Linked DNA regions of Homo sapiens: regions 2, 3 and 4 are each linked to region 1. The links are contacts of gene promoters, found by promoter capture Hi-C in blood cells and fetal thymus (Javierre and others, 2016). All regions are on one chromosome and are shown on one strand. The core of a region is centred on a gene start or on the middle of the fragment in contact, and the rest is flanking DNA. Distances in the headings are between cores, read along the strand shown.

Region 1 (3,453 bases), core at 485-2,984:
GCCCCAGAACACAACTTTGGTCAGGCATGCAGTCACTTACTGCGCCCTCAGCATGCACCTGTGACCCTCACGTGCATACCTGGGCTTTATGCGCACCTGGGTACCTGTGGCAACTTGGACCCCTCCCAGTACGCCTAGGTATGCGCGCCCATGAGCCGGCACTCACTTGAGTCCCTGCACATGCCCACCTGGGCCATACAGGCGCCAGTAGTACCCCTCGGGGGACACCTGTATTCTCGCGTGCACACCTGGGTTCCACGTACATCTGGATCTCTGCGCGCTCCCACCTGTGACCCACTCAGCTCACGACCCGCTCGGTTCCCGCCCGCCCCCGCCCCCGCCCCCGCCGCCGCCGCCGCCGCCGCCGCCGCCACCGCCCGGGTGTACCTGGATGTTGAGCTTGCGCTCACAGGCCGGTCCCGTGCCCTGCACCACGCTGTCGAGCACCGCCACCACGTCGGGCGCCGGTTCCACGAAGCAGGCGGTGCGCGCAGCTCGGATGGCGGCTCGCACGTCGGCGAAGCGGAAGGCGCAGAGTGCGGCCGGAGCAGCGCGGGCCGCGGGGGACCCCTGGGGCCGCTCGAAGACAGCAAAGAGCCGCTCCCGGGCTGGGAAGACCGACACCAGGCGGCTGTAGAGGTCGCCGCGGCCCGCGCCGCCCGCGCACTGCAAGCCCAACTGGATGTAGGACTCGGTGAGCTTCTTGGCGTCGCCGCCGGCGCCGTGGGGCAGGCAGATGCGCGCCAGCAGGCTCCGCGCCTGGCTCTCCTTGTCGCCCGCGCGCGCCTCGCTGTTGAGCGCCAGGTACGCGTAGGACTGTGCACCCGGCGGCGGGTCGGACGGGTGCAGGAAGGCGCTCACGAAGCCCAGCTTGTGCTGCTCCTTGGCGCCCTGCTTGATCTTGAGGATGTTGTCGTCGGAGGGGTTGAGGTCGAAGGTGAAGAGCTTGGCCAGGTCGCCGCGCGTGTCCAGGGAGCGGATGGCGATCTCGGGCGTGTTCTCGAAGCGGTGGTCCTCCAGGCTGCGGTTGCGCGGGAAGAAGGAGCTGCCGTAACCGGTGTACGTGGCGCCCACGAGCAGGCGGCTGCCCCCCGCGCCCGCGGCGGGAGGCAGAACTAGCCCCACGGTGGACGCGTTCGGGTGGTTGGCCGCCACGTTCAGCATGCTGGGGAACACCGTGACGGGCTCGGCGGGCGGCGCGGCGGGCGGGAAGCGCACGGCCACGGCCGAGATGTTGCCCCGGCGCCGCAGCTGGCAGAAGCCCTGGTAGATGGACCCGCACACGACTACCAGGCCCTGGCCGGGGTCCAGCTGCAGGATCTTGTTGTAGTTGTCCGTGAGGCGCCGCGGGTGCTCGCACGAGGCCTGCGGCAGCTGCGGAGCGTGACACAGCGGGCTGTCGGGCACCGGGCCCACGGCCGCCTCGGCCTCCAGGCTCAGGTTGGCGCCCGACAGCTGATAGAGGCGGTTGACGGCCGCCAGGTACACGGTCCCCGCCGCGCCGTCCAGGGCGAAGTTGTTGGTGGGCGTGGGCGAGGGGAACCGACGCTGGATCTCCAGGGCGCCGGCCCGCGCCGCCCCCAGGAGCAGCAGCAACAGCAGCGGCACCGGGCACCGCGGCGGCGTCTGGAACGGCGGGGGGCTGGCGGCGGCGGCCCGGGCGCTAAGGGGTGCGCCGCCCGCGGCGCGAGGAGCCATCCGGGCGTGCGCGGGCTGCGCGGCGCGGCGAGTGCATGGGGCGAGGCGCGGCCGGGAGCCGGGAGCCCGGAGGCGGCGGGAGGCGGGGGGCGGGCCCGGGCCGCGATGCGCTTCCTGCCCGCGCCAGCCGCCCCCGACCCCGGCGCCCGGGCCCGGGTCAGCCTCGCCGCGCAGCCCGGGGGCGGGGCGGGGGCGGCTCCGCTGCGGACACGCCCTCACTCCCCGCCCCGGCCCCGCCCGCCCCCGGGACCCCCGCCTGCCCCTGGCCGCCCTGGGCCACGCCCCGCCGTCCGCGGGTCCCGCCGCCCGCGCCCTCCAGGACCCGCCCGCGGCCCCAGGGTCCCTCCCCGTAGCCGCCGCCGCCGTCGCTCGCTCTCCTCGCTCTTTCCTCCCACTTGGCCGCTTGGCCTGCCTCGCTCGCGCCTGTTTTCTCTTTTCCGCCCTCTCCCCCACCCCGTCTCTCCCTCTCTCTGCGTCTCTCGGTCTCTGCGTCTCTCCGTCTCTGTCCCCACCCCAAACTCCGCGCGTGTGGCGCTTCTCCGGGTTCTGCCTCTGCTTCTCCTTCTCCCTCCGACTCCGCTTCGCTCTCCAGTCCCTGGCAGCCCCGCCCCCGGCCCTTTCTAGTCTCCTTCTCTCTCCTGCTCCGTTTTTCCGTCCCTGACGCTCGCTCCCTCTCTCCGTGGCTCCCTCTGCCTCCCCCTCGGACCCTCCGTCCCTCTCTCGGTCCCTCTGAGCTCCCCTTTCCTTCTCCCTCTGCCTTCCCGAACCCTGTGTCTCCCCTCCACACTCAGCCTCCCTCCACCACCTTTCTCAGGCACTGTCCAGGCCTTCGCTCCCCCGGTGCCGGCCAGTCGGGCCCCCCAGACCCCATAATCTGTCCCCCAAACCCCAGACCCATAAAAGGGATTTACAAGTGGCAGGGCCAGAGGGACCAGTGCTCAGGGTCAGATATATAAATGAGGAAAACATGGAGAGAGGAAATAGTTCCAGCCAGTGGCCCACAACCGATAGCCAGAGCAAGGCCTTGGTCCTGGAGCCCACAGTTGCCTCCTGTGGAGACCCAGCCGCACCCCCACCCCTGGCACCCCCGCCAGGCACTTTCCCTGACATCCTCCCAGGCTTAGTGGAAGATTAGTCCCACAAAAGCCGGCACTGGGCAGGGTTCTTGATCTCAAAAGCAGCGTTAGGGGCAGGCAGCCTGGTTCCAAGGTCACAGCCCTGTGAGGACCATGCGCCGTGGCTGTTTTGCGGGGGTGCTCACACAGGGCTAGCCCGTGCCAGACACTGTGCCAAGCACTTGCCATGTACGGGCTCTCTTTTTCCTCACAGATTCCCCCGAGGCGAGCGCTATTGGTAACCCATCTTCCAGATATGGAAACCAAGGCTGAGGGGAAGGGACTGGCCCAAGATGCACAGCTCATGAGGAGCAGAGCTACAGTGTTTGAAAGCAAAAGCCCTTCAGCTCCGACCTCTCAGAACGGGGCCTCCCATCAGACCCCCAGCTTCCACAGGGTGCCCGGTGGGCCTCACTCTGAGAGTAGCGGGACCTCATTTTCCTCTTTCCCACCCAACCAGGAAGGAAGGGCAGGGGTGTCTGTGCACCATGGGGCCGGCAGGAAAGGCTGGGCCTGCAGCCGCCCCCCACTTCCCTCAACACCCTCGCCTTCCTGCCATCCTGCCCGCCTTGTTCCAGACCCCTCAGCCCTGGTCTGGCCACTGCTTTGATGGCCGGGAGTGTTGAGCTGCAGGAAATTG
Region 2 (3,453 bases), core at 593-3,092, 230 kb after region 1:
AAAAAAATTCAGTCACGGTTTCTCTCACTCTTTCATATATATATATATATATTTTAATGACAGGCTTTTCCCATCTGTTAGCATATGCTTAGTTTTTCCTAATTATCTAGCTGAACCAGCCCCACCTAGCAACCCATCACCAAGGAGACAGATACTCTGTTTTAGAATCCAGAAAGAGAGATATATCAAACAACATTTAATTATTAAAGCAATAATAACGTGTGATGAGGTTTCTATAAAGAACAAAAATACATAATCAAGAGCATATACTTGGGAGTCACAGGGTTCCAAGGTTCTTGTACTGTCCAAGAGTGTAAAAGCGGCAAGCAATCTGCAATATGTTTTTAAAAAGTGTATTTATTTAAAAAATCCAAAGTGCAGAACCATGTATATATCATGCTACTACTTTTAAAGGAGTGAGTACATACTGCATATGCACAGACTATTTCATTCTGGAATGGTGGACAGGTAACTGGTAACTAATGTTACTCCAGAGGGAAAACAAACACACTAAATAGAAAGGAGAAAGAATTAAAATACTCAAATCCAAAAAAGAAGAGAGAACAAGATTACAGAACAAATAAAACATATTTAAGCAGCAAAATATAAGATGTCAAACATAAATTCAAATAACTCAGTAATTACATTAAATGTAATTGGACCAGATGACAAAAATCAATTTTTAAAAAAAAATTAATCAAGAATCACACTTAAAATTACAGAAAATAGTTCAAAGTATGGGAAAAAGTCATACTAACAAACTGAAACACAGCTGCTCTAGCTGTATTAATTGTATTCAAAGTAGACTTCAATGCACAAAAGCCATTAATACCTATAAAGGTATAATTTATCAGGAAGATGCAACAATTTTAAATTTGTATGCATGTAATAACATAGCCTCCAAATATATAAAGCAAAACAGCAGAATTATAAAGAGAAGTGGGAGAAAAAATCCATAATCATAATAAATTTTGTATTCTTCTCAGTAGGTGATAGAACAAATGACTCAAATAAAGGGAGAGGGTAGAAATATAGATTTGAATAGCATGAACAAACTGGACCTAAATAAGACATTAATATGACACAGCATCCAATAATTGCAAAATATACTCTTTCAAGCAGAAAGAGATCATTTACAAAAATTGACCATATGTTGAACCCTAAGGCAAGTCTCACAAATTTTAAAAAAACTGAAATAATACACAGTATATTCTCTGACCACAATGTGGATTCCTGAGGTTCAAAAAGAGCTGGGAGGAAATCACTTTTTCCTTTTTTGTTTACTGCTATCCCAGCCTCCAGGCAATACAACATTTATGGAGCAACAGCTAAGGCTAGACAGGCACCTAAAAGCCTTGTCTCTGACCAAAGGAAACAGTCCCAAGAGCATGGAAGAATCCCAGTGCAGATAGGAAGATTAAACCAAAAATTCTGACAAACTGCTGAAGACTGAATGTAGGTTAGAATCAGAGTGTGAAGTCCTCGAGGGCTGCAATCATAGGAGAGTTCCCATCCTCTTGTGGGCTTTTCCTCCAGGAACCTCAAAAGGCTCTCTAATGCAGGGGGAAGCAGAGAGGAAGTAGAGAAAGCTCCTCCATCTCCACCCCCGTGGAGCTAATGAGGGAAGAGCAAGCAACAATACCAAACCAGCCTATTTCCCTTATCTCCCTGTGGAACAAAAGGCTTAATCAGCAAGGAGCAATTTCTGGTGGAATCCCACTACAGCTGGAGGAAGGAAAGGAAGCTGACACCCAATTTTCACCCTTATCCATCTTCACTGTTTCTCTAAAACAGCAATAGCCTTAAATGCAGGCGGAAAGAGCTGAAAAAAACCTTAGCTTGAGGATACTATTGAATCCCCATAGCAGTTGGGAAAAAGAAGGGAATAGTCTTCTGAAGGCCACACCCCCAAGACCCAGGTTCTACTATCTGCATAAATCTGAGGCTTAACCAGAACATCACAGAACTCCCCTCACCCTCCACTAACTGACAGGCTTTGAGTAAAAACAATGGAATACACCTGAGAAAGCTGCAAGACTCAGACTCTCACGGAGAAACAGCACAAAGGGAAAACCCAAAGCCAAGCAGGAAGACAAGAACAAGGTATTACTGGGAAAATTTGAAGCCTCTAGTTCCCATGGCAACAATAAATGTCAACTCCAGTAACCATTGCAATAATAAACATCAAACACAGCCCAATGCCTGAACAGATTAACACAAATCTCCACCCTAAAGGACTTGCAGGAAACTAGCAGTCTTCAGTAAGCATATCAAGCATATACCTCAGTATCTCCTGTCATATACAGCACATTCAGCTTTAAACAAAAATTATGAAGCATGGCAAAGGCAGTAATAAAAACACAGCTCAAAGGGACAAAGCAATTATCAGAGCCAGACCCACGTATGACATAAATTTTGGAACTACAAGACAGTAAATTAGAACGTGATTAATACAGTAAAAACTCTAATGAAAGAGGTAGACAACATATGAGATCAGACAGGTAATTTCAGAGATAAATGAAAATTATAAAAAATCAAGTGGAAACCAAATTAGAAATAAAGACATAGTAATGACAAATGCCTTTGAGAGGCTTATCAAGTAGACTTGAAACAGCTGAAAAAAGAATCAGTAAACTTGAAAATAGGCTAGTAGAAACTACCCAAACTGAAATATAAAGAGAAAAGAGATTTTCCCACCTGGAGAACATACAACAGCTGTGGCAGAAGTCCAGAAGAAGAGACAACAGAGAAGAAACATTTGAATGGCCAAGAACTTACCGAAATTAGTGATAAGACACTAAACTACAGAGTAACAATAAGAAACTCTGAAAACAGGCTGGGCATGGTGCCTCATGCCTATAATCCCAGCACTTTGGAAGGCTGAGGCGGGAGGATGGCTTGAGCCCAGGAGACCAGCCTGGGCAGCATAGGGAGACCTCATCCCTAAAAATAAACAAAAAAATCAGCCGGGAATGATGGCACATGCCTGTGGTCCCAGCTACTTGAGAAGCCTGGGCCCTGGGAGGACTGCTTGGGCCCTGGAGGTCGAGGCTGCAAAGAGCCGTGAGCGTCCCACTGCATTCCAGCCTGGATGACAGGGCAAGACCCTGTCTCAAAAAATAAAAGAAAAAGAAAAAAAGAAAAAGAAACTGAAAATGCCAAACAATACCAAAAAAGGGGGCTGGGCACGGTGGCTCATGCCTGTAATCCAACACTTTGGGAGGCCGAGACGGGCAGATCACAAGGTCAGGAGTTTGAGACCAGCCTGACCAACAGGGTGAAACCCCGTCTCTACTAAAAATACAAAAATTAGCCAGGTGTGGTGGTGCGTGCCTGTAATCCCAGCTACTCAGGAGGCTGAGGCAGGAGAATCACTTGAACCTGGGAGGTGGAGGTTGCAGTGAGCCGAGATCGCGCCAATGCACTCTAGCCTGGGTGACAGAGCAAGACTCT
Region 3 (3,453 bases), core at 570-3,069, 200 kb after region 1:
AAATACAAAAAGTTAGCTGGGTGTGGTGGCAGGCACCTGTAGTCCCAGCTACTTGGGAGGCTGAGGCAGGAGAGTGGTGTGAACCCAGGAGGTGGAGCTTGCAGTGAGCTGAGATCGCGCCACTGCACTCCAGCCTAGGCGACAGACCAAGATTCCATCTCAAAAAAAAAAAAAAAAAAAAATTCTGGAAGATTATATTAAATAAATCTACAGAAAGTTGTTCACAAAAAATAACATTTAAAATAGAAGATTCACAAGCAAGTAAAATGTTTCATACTCCTAGTGTTGGAAAGCAGATATGACTTTTAAATTCCTGGTTTTAATAATTCTCTGTAAGACTAAGGACACAAACACATATCTGAAATAATATTAACTTCTTAATTTCATTTGTTCCTGTAGCTTACTGTTGGCCTAAAGCCACACAATTCAGCCTTCCTTTGTCAGGATGCATTTCAGAGCTTCCAGCTGTAATTTTTTAAATGGTACTGTAACAATACAGTATTGTGAAGCCACAGACAGTAAATGATAAGAGATACAAACTGACAGGAAGAAAAAAAAAATCTCCAGGGTGCAAAAGAAGAGAGAGAGAGGTAAAGACAGTATTTATAGAAAAACATTTAGTTAAAGTACTGAAATCCTGCAAAAAAGAATAGCTTTTGGTATTTTCCATACTGAACATTAATGCATTTTGCAAACAATTTTCCCGGTTTCAGTAGTAGCCAATTCTTTTTTTACCTCTTTTTAGGTAAATCCCACTAAAACAGTACATTTAATCTTGATGTGACAAAGCAAGTTACTCATCTAAATAAGGACCCTGATTTTATTTAGTTTTACTGATTTTATGTAGAAAAACATTAGAGCTACAAATCCTCATAACAATGAAAACAACATGTGAAAGTCAAACTTGTCTTGAATTTCTGTACTAATCCACACATCTCTGCACCCTAAGGCAACAAAAGATACTGATACAGAACTATGAGCAAAAATCAGGCTGGATGCGGTAGCTCACACCTGTAATCCCAGCACTTTGGGAGGCCAAGGTGGGTGGATGGCTTGAGCTCACAAGTTCAAGACCAGCCTGGGCAACATGGTAAAACCCCATTTCTACAAAAACATACAAAAATTAGCTGGGCATGGTGGCGGGCACGTGTAGTCCCAGCTACTAGGGAGGCTGAGGTGGGAGAATCACTTAAACCCAGGAGGCAGGGGTTGCAGTGAGCCAAGATTGCACCACTGGGCAACAGAGTGAGAGACACTGTCTCCCAAAAAAAACAAAACAAAACTAAGCAAAAATCAAGAGACATATATCACATACTAGTACGCAGAACCAAAACAGGTAATTTATACTGTGGCCTAAATCCTCCTGAACTATAATCGGATCACAAAACCTTTATACTCATTCTCATAAAGCTAAACTCCTGACAATAGAAAACAGCTTGCATTTTATCTTTATGTACAGAAACTTAAGCAAGTTCACCCTATATCTTAAGGCTCAATGGGCAAACATTCCTAAGAAGAATATGTTAATCTCACAAGCATTTATCTGCTTAAACTGAACTTGATTCTATGGTATAACTCATCACAAATTATATAATATAAAGACAATGTATGACATCAACGAATATGGAAGGAAGCTTATCAAAGCAATGTTTCAATTCATAAGCAATCACATTTACAACAACAAAATTAGGTAAATTGTTTCCTTCAGGTGTTTTGCATTTTTATAGAAAATAACAATTCTATGGAGCAGAAAACCTGGATACTGTTCTTTCACCTAGAAGAATGTATAGCTGTGTCTTGAACATCTACAACTGTTGAAACAAGTTTAATGTTATTGGAAAGCCTGTGGTGAGCTTAAGGCAGAAAACAATGTTTAAGGTATTCTAGTCCTATCCTATGGTAAAATGGTTATTTAAATGTGCATTTGCACAGCTGCTTAACATATGAGTTTTTTTAATTAATAAACCAAGAGTATGCTCCCTAAGACTGTGTATGTTCTTCTAAATAAGCTTCTATATCACTAAAATTCTAAAGCGTATTCCTCAGAGCATCCACATGGGGAAGGTTATATTGATCAGTTACTCTGATGCACTACTCCATTGTTAAGCTTACAAAGAAATGCTCAGAAACAAATAGATCAGAATTAGGATGCTCACTTTCATGGCCATTCATTTTATATATTATTTTTAATTTTTTAGAGATAGGATATCACTCTGTTGCCCAGACTGGACTGCAGTGGCACAGTCAACAGCTCCCTGTAACCTCAACTCTTGGCCTCAAGTGATCCTCCTGCCTCAGCCTCCCAAGTAGCTTGGACTACAGGTGTGTGCCACCACACCTGGCTGTTTTTTTTAAAATTTCTTGTAGAGACAGGGGTCTCACTGTGTTGCCCAGGCTGGTCTTGAACTCCTGGCTCCAGTGATCCTCCCACATCAGCCTCCCAAAGTGCTGGGATTAGGGGCATGAGCCACTGTGTCCAACCATTTGAGAAAAGTGATCCTGAGATGGGAATTTTCTCAGCAAATCTTCAATAAATGCAAGACTATGCATTTTTTTAAAAAAGAAATCAAGTTTTGGGCCAGGTGCAGTGGCTCATACCTGTAATCCCAGCACTTTGGGAGGCTGAGGTGGGCAGATCACCTGAGGTCAGGGGTTCGAGCCCAGCCTGGCCAACATGGCGAAACCCTGTCTCTACTAAAAATACAAAACTTAGCTGGGCGTGGTGGCATGCGCCTGTAATCCCAGCTACTCAGGAGGCTCAGGAAGGAGAATCACTTGAACCCAGTAGGCGGAGGTTGCAGTGAGCCCAGGTTGTGCCACTGCACTCCAGCCTGGGTGACAGAGCAAGACTCTGCCTCAATTTAAAAAAAAAAAAAAGAAAGAAAGAAATCAAGTTTTGGTGATTCTTACTATTCAATACTCTTAGATTCATTAGTACAGAAGGGCTTTTACCTTTGTGTTAACAATGAGAAATGGCTGGGCGTGGTGGCTCATGCCTATAATCCCAGCACTTTGGGAGGCCAAGGTGGGCAAATCACCTGAGATCAGGAAATCAAGATCAGCCTGGCCAACACAGTGAAACTCCATCTCTGCTAAATATGCAAAAATTAGCTAGATGTGGTGGCACGCACCTGTAATCCCAGCTTCTTGGGAAGCTGAGGCAGAAGAATCACTTGAATCTGGGAGGTGGAGGGTGCAGTGAGATCACGCCACTGCACTCCAGCCTAGGCAACAGAGCAAGACTCTGTCTCAAAAAAAAAAAAAAAAAAAAAAAGCCAATGAGAAAAAAACAGGGCATTATGTAAAAGAGGAAAGAAGAACACCACAACTATAACAAAGAAACTTAAGCTGGTACTCTGTAGGACTACAATCACATCCACAATACTCAAATCAAATCTCTGGTACTGAGATTTCACTTTTAATACCCCTGTTCAAGATATTTTATTGAAGAAG
Region 4 (3,453 bases), core at 475-2,974, 190 kb after region 1:
TAAGACAACTCTACTCCTGTGGAAAATTACTTATTAGCAAAAATGCTTGTTACTGAAGTCGGAAACATCTGAAATTGCTGTTCAACTGTATATATATATATACATATATATATATACACATATATATATCTATGAAAAAACGATTTCATTTTGAGTGTTCAATATGTGCCAGAAATACCATAAACTGGGGTATGGCAGGTCCCTGGCTCTCAGGTAACCTATGGATTTAGCTGAAAAGACAAATAGAGGCACGATGCATTTGCTGATATATTTTTTTTTAAGACGGAGTCTCGCTCTGTCACCCAGGCTGGAGTGCAGTGGCATGATCTCAGCTCACTGCAGCCTCTGCCTCCTGGGTTCAAGCGATTCTCCTGCGTCGTCAGCCTCCCAAGTAGCTGGGACCACAGGCACGCACCACCATGCCCGGTTTATTTTTATATTTTTAGTAGAGATGAGGTTTCACTATGTTGGCCACGCTGATCCATTTGCTGAGTTTGTTTTTTAAACTCACTAACATAACTATTCGGTTTCTCCTTCATATTTAAGTGCCTTACAGACTGAAATAATTAAAAATATTTTTTCAGTTCATTACTCTGATAGAACAGTAAATCTGATAGACAACAAATTTCCTTAGCTTTGGTCTAGATCATCCATTATAGGATCCATAAATCACATTCAAATGAGCAATAAGGGTACCAGGAAAAGGAATGAAAAAAGGCTACATCTTTGAGTGTTTTTATGTAATGTACCTAAAGAGAGGATGCATCCCATTCCTTCAAAAGTGTACTTTTTGTAAATCAGTCATATACATAGTATAGAGTGAAGAGGGTAAAGTTTAAAAAATAATTGGGAGAGAAGTACTGGCAGCAAAATACCCATAATATAGTTACCTTCTAATTAGAAAATTATCACCTGGCTCTCAACTATCAGACACTCTTGTGCAGGAACGTCACTGCCCTGATATCTACCCATCTGCTTTTTAAATGTACTATATATATGAAAATACAAGCACTGGAGGACATTGAAAGAGCAACAAAAATGATTCTTTTTATTGTGTAAGAGAAATGTGGAGGCCTTCAAACACACACACACACACACACACACCATGGAGCAGGGGGGAAGGGAGCAAGTTAAATATATTTTAATACTCCTAAAAATCCCGTTAGGCTTAGAAGTCCCAAGAAAAACTATGCATATGTGACACAGGGATGGAAGCAAGCACTTTGCTCATTTCTGCATCAGTGCACACACTCTACACTGGGGTCACCTGTGAGGGAACTAAAGGTTTTCCCTTAAGATCACAATACATTTCAGGATCTAACAATTCTGATTAACAGCCAAGGCAGTGAAGAATGCCTACAGACTTACTATTTGTTTAAGCTTCTGTATTCAGGGAATGAACTGTGACACAACTGAGCCACCAACTGCTACATTTTTTAAATGGAGCTTTTAAAGAACACAATGGGTTTTGAAATAAAGCTCAACTCTTACCACACCTCTTTCCATATTAGTTTCTGCACTAAATGACTGGGTCAAGGAGGGCTGGCTACAGGCAGAGTGGATTTCATAAATCACCATCCCCTCTTAAATGCGTGCTTCACCTTTTTACTATTTTAAGTATGATTTTCTCAGGTTAAAAAAACTTTTCCCCAAAAGCTGCACACATGGAACCTGCTTTTCATCAGAACTCTGTAAAAACTGCTTTGTGAGCCTCTCTGTAACTGCTTTTCATATACTTCATTAAGTATTCAAGTTTCTCAACACAACCACTCATTTTAACATTTTAATGCCAGTCTTGCTCATTAAACTATTTTGTGGTAGTTTTTCTCAGTTTAATAGTGAAATGTATGAAAGCACTGATTCCACAGAGAAGAAGGCTTTCTCCTCTTGGTCCACAAGCTGACAGATTAATTGCTTATTAAATATACACTTTCAACCCACAATTATCTCTTTCACACACACCCTTCTGGAAATTCTATCTCAGGAGCAAACTACAACTTTGCCCAAATTCAGATGACAGCTGCAGTTTTAGGGGAACACAATCTGGGGCTGCCAGTGCAGTCAGCCTTCAAGCTTTGTGCCTGTCAGATAAAAGAACAAAAGGCAGTGCTTCCTCCCTCAGCCCCTCCTTAGCGCTGGAGGACGGCAGGCTTGACAGAACAGTTCCAGAGAAAAAGGAACCATGCTGAAGCAAGTGAGAGTTTCCCCTCCACAAACATAGAAAACTACCAACCCACCTTGGATAGCTGCCTCCTGAGGCTAAAGCGCTGAACCATGATCACCCAGAGGATCTTCAGACAAAGCAATCCACGAAGGGTTTTTTAAATAACAGCTTCTTGGGAAAGTCGGTGGCAGAACATTTTGAAGACTGCCAGAGAAGTGCAAAGAATTTCCCTGGGAGTCTTAGCAAACTTGGAAAGCCTTCATTGTTCTATCAAGAGATACTGGAAAACCTACGTGGGAGAGGGCAGGGTGGGTGGGGCAGTAATCCTGAAGCCGCTGTGCCCAGTGCCAAGCTCTTCTAGCACTTCCTGTGAGTCAGCTGTGAGGGGTCCAAACACAAGGACCACCCCTTCCCTTTCCACCAGACCAGTAGGCGAGGATGCCGCTGTGGTGCTACCTGAAACTCCAGAGGACAGACCTGATGTTCCGGTCTCTGTGGGAGGAGGAGTGGTGTGCTGGGGTCAGACAGCATCTGCTCCAAGTAGGAGACAGGCAACTGCACCAATTCCTCCCCTCTTCAGCCGTCCCAGCAGCAGAGAGTGTCCACTGCAGACAGCAACGCACCCTTCTCTACCTCCACCTTAGGTAATCCTTTAAGGTGAGGCAGTGTGAAAAAAAAGGAGGTGGTGAAAAGCAAGCCCCTGGCTGTACCAGCTCCCTGCTCAAGAAGGAAACTCCTCCCAGCTGGGCTCGGCAGCTGTGCGGCTTTGTCTAGCATAATTGGCCAAGCCTTTCCTCTTATTCACAGGGAGGGGTCCTGCCTCAGGAAGGAATGTCAGGTGCAGAGAGGCATACTCCGACGGTGACTTCAACTTGTGCCAAAGTTAAACACATTAAAGTGGCCTCCTGAGGTAATTGCCCTCTCTTGTTGGAATGAAGTAATTTTTTAAAATCTACACACAAAACAAAAGGAACAGCTCAGAGTGAATCAATGCAGGTAAAGAGGTATGAAAAATAACTGTAAGAGCAGTTCCAAAGATAAAAATATTCCTATCTTTGCCACTCTTCCTCTGTTTGGGTCTGCTTCCAGACAACCACTGTGAGGATAACGTTTCATTTAATGAAACTTTCCAGTCTATGTGCTCCTCTTGGAATTGTTCATTACTTCTGAATGAATTTAGTACTGTTTAGGGCAGAACTCATTCGTATATTTTTTTTCCCTGTTCCAGTGTCTCTCAATTTCCTGTGAGCAAAGTTATGTCATATGCTACATTTAAAGCCTTTGTTGGA

The links. Contacts are between HindIII fragments. The CHiCAGO score rates a contact against its expected background, and 5 or more counts as called.
Region 2: a contact is called between a fragment that was not itself captured here and the fragment with the promoter of PLXND1 in region 1, in 5 of 17 cell types (M2 macrophages, M0 macrophages, M1 macrophages and 2 more). The highest score is 18.1, in M2 macrophages.
Region 3: a contact is called between a fragment that was not itself captured here and the fragment with the promoter of PLXND1 in region 1, in 5 of 17 cell types (M2 macrophages, M1 macrophages, M0 macrophages and 2 more). The highest score is 9.7, in M2 macrophages.
Region 4: a contact is called between a fragment that was not itself captured here and the fragment with the promoter of PLXND1 in region 1, in 4 of 17 cell types (M2 macrophages, M0 macrophages, endothelial precursors and 1 more). The highest score is 7.9, in M2 macrophages.

Annotation. Positions count from the first base shown.
Region 1 is chr3:129,604,942-129,608,394 of GRCh38, forward strand. It overlaps PLXND1 (plexin D1), which reads right to left and starts at 1,735. Exons shown (of 36, transcript NM_015103.3): 1 at 388-1,735. The coding sequence starts at 1,698. RefSeq lists enhancers at 1-971, 1,964-2,956, 2,957-3,453 and silencers at 1,694-1,753, 1,904-2,063. The HindIII fragment of the contact is 18,333 bases long and covers 1-3,453 here.
Region 2 is chr3:129,835,295-129,838,747 of GRCh38, forward strand. The region is part of intron 2 of TMCC1 (transmembrane and coiled-coil domain family 1); the gene reads right to left. Among named protein-coding and RNA genes, the nearest start is that of TMCC1, 57 kb to the right of the region's middle. The HindIII fragment of the contact is 3,955 bases long and covers 1-3,453 here.
Region 3 is chr3:129,809,086-129,812,538 of GRCh38, forward strand. All of the region lies in intron 4 of TMCC1 (transmembrane and coiled-coil domain family 1), which reads right to left. Among named protein-coding and RNA genes, the nearest start is that of TMCC1, 83 kb to the right of the region's middle. The HindIII fragment of the contact is 375 bases long and covers 1,633-2,007 here.
Region 4 is chr3:129,792,087-129,795,539 of GRCh38, forward strand. All of the region lies in intron 4 of TMCC1 (transmembrane and coiled-coil domain family 1), which reads right to left. Among named protein-coding and RNA genes, the nearest start is that of TMCC1, 100 kb to the right of the region's middle. RefSeq lists an enhancer at 2,217-3,416. The HindIII fragment of the contact is 693 bases long and covers 1,379-2,071 here.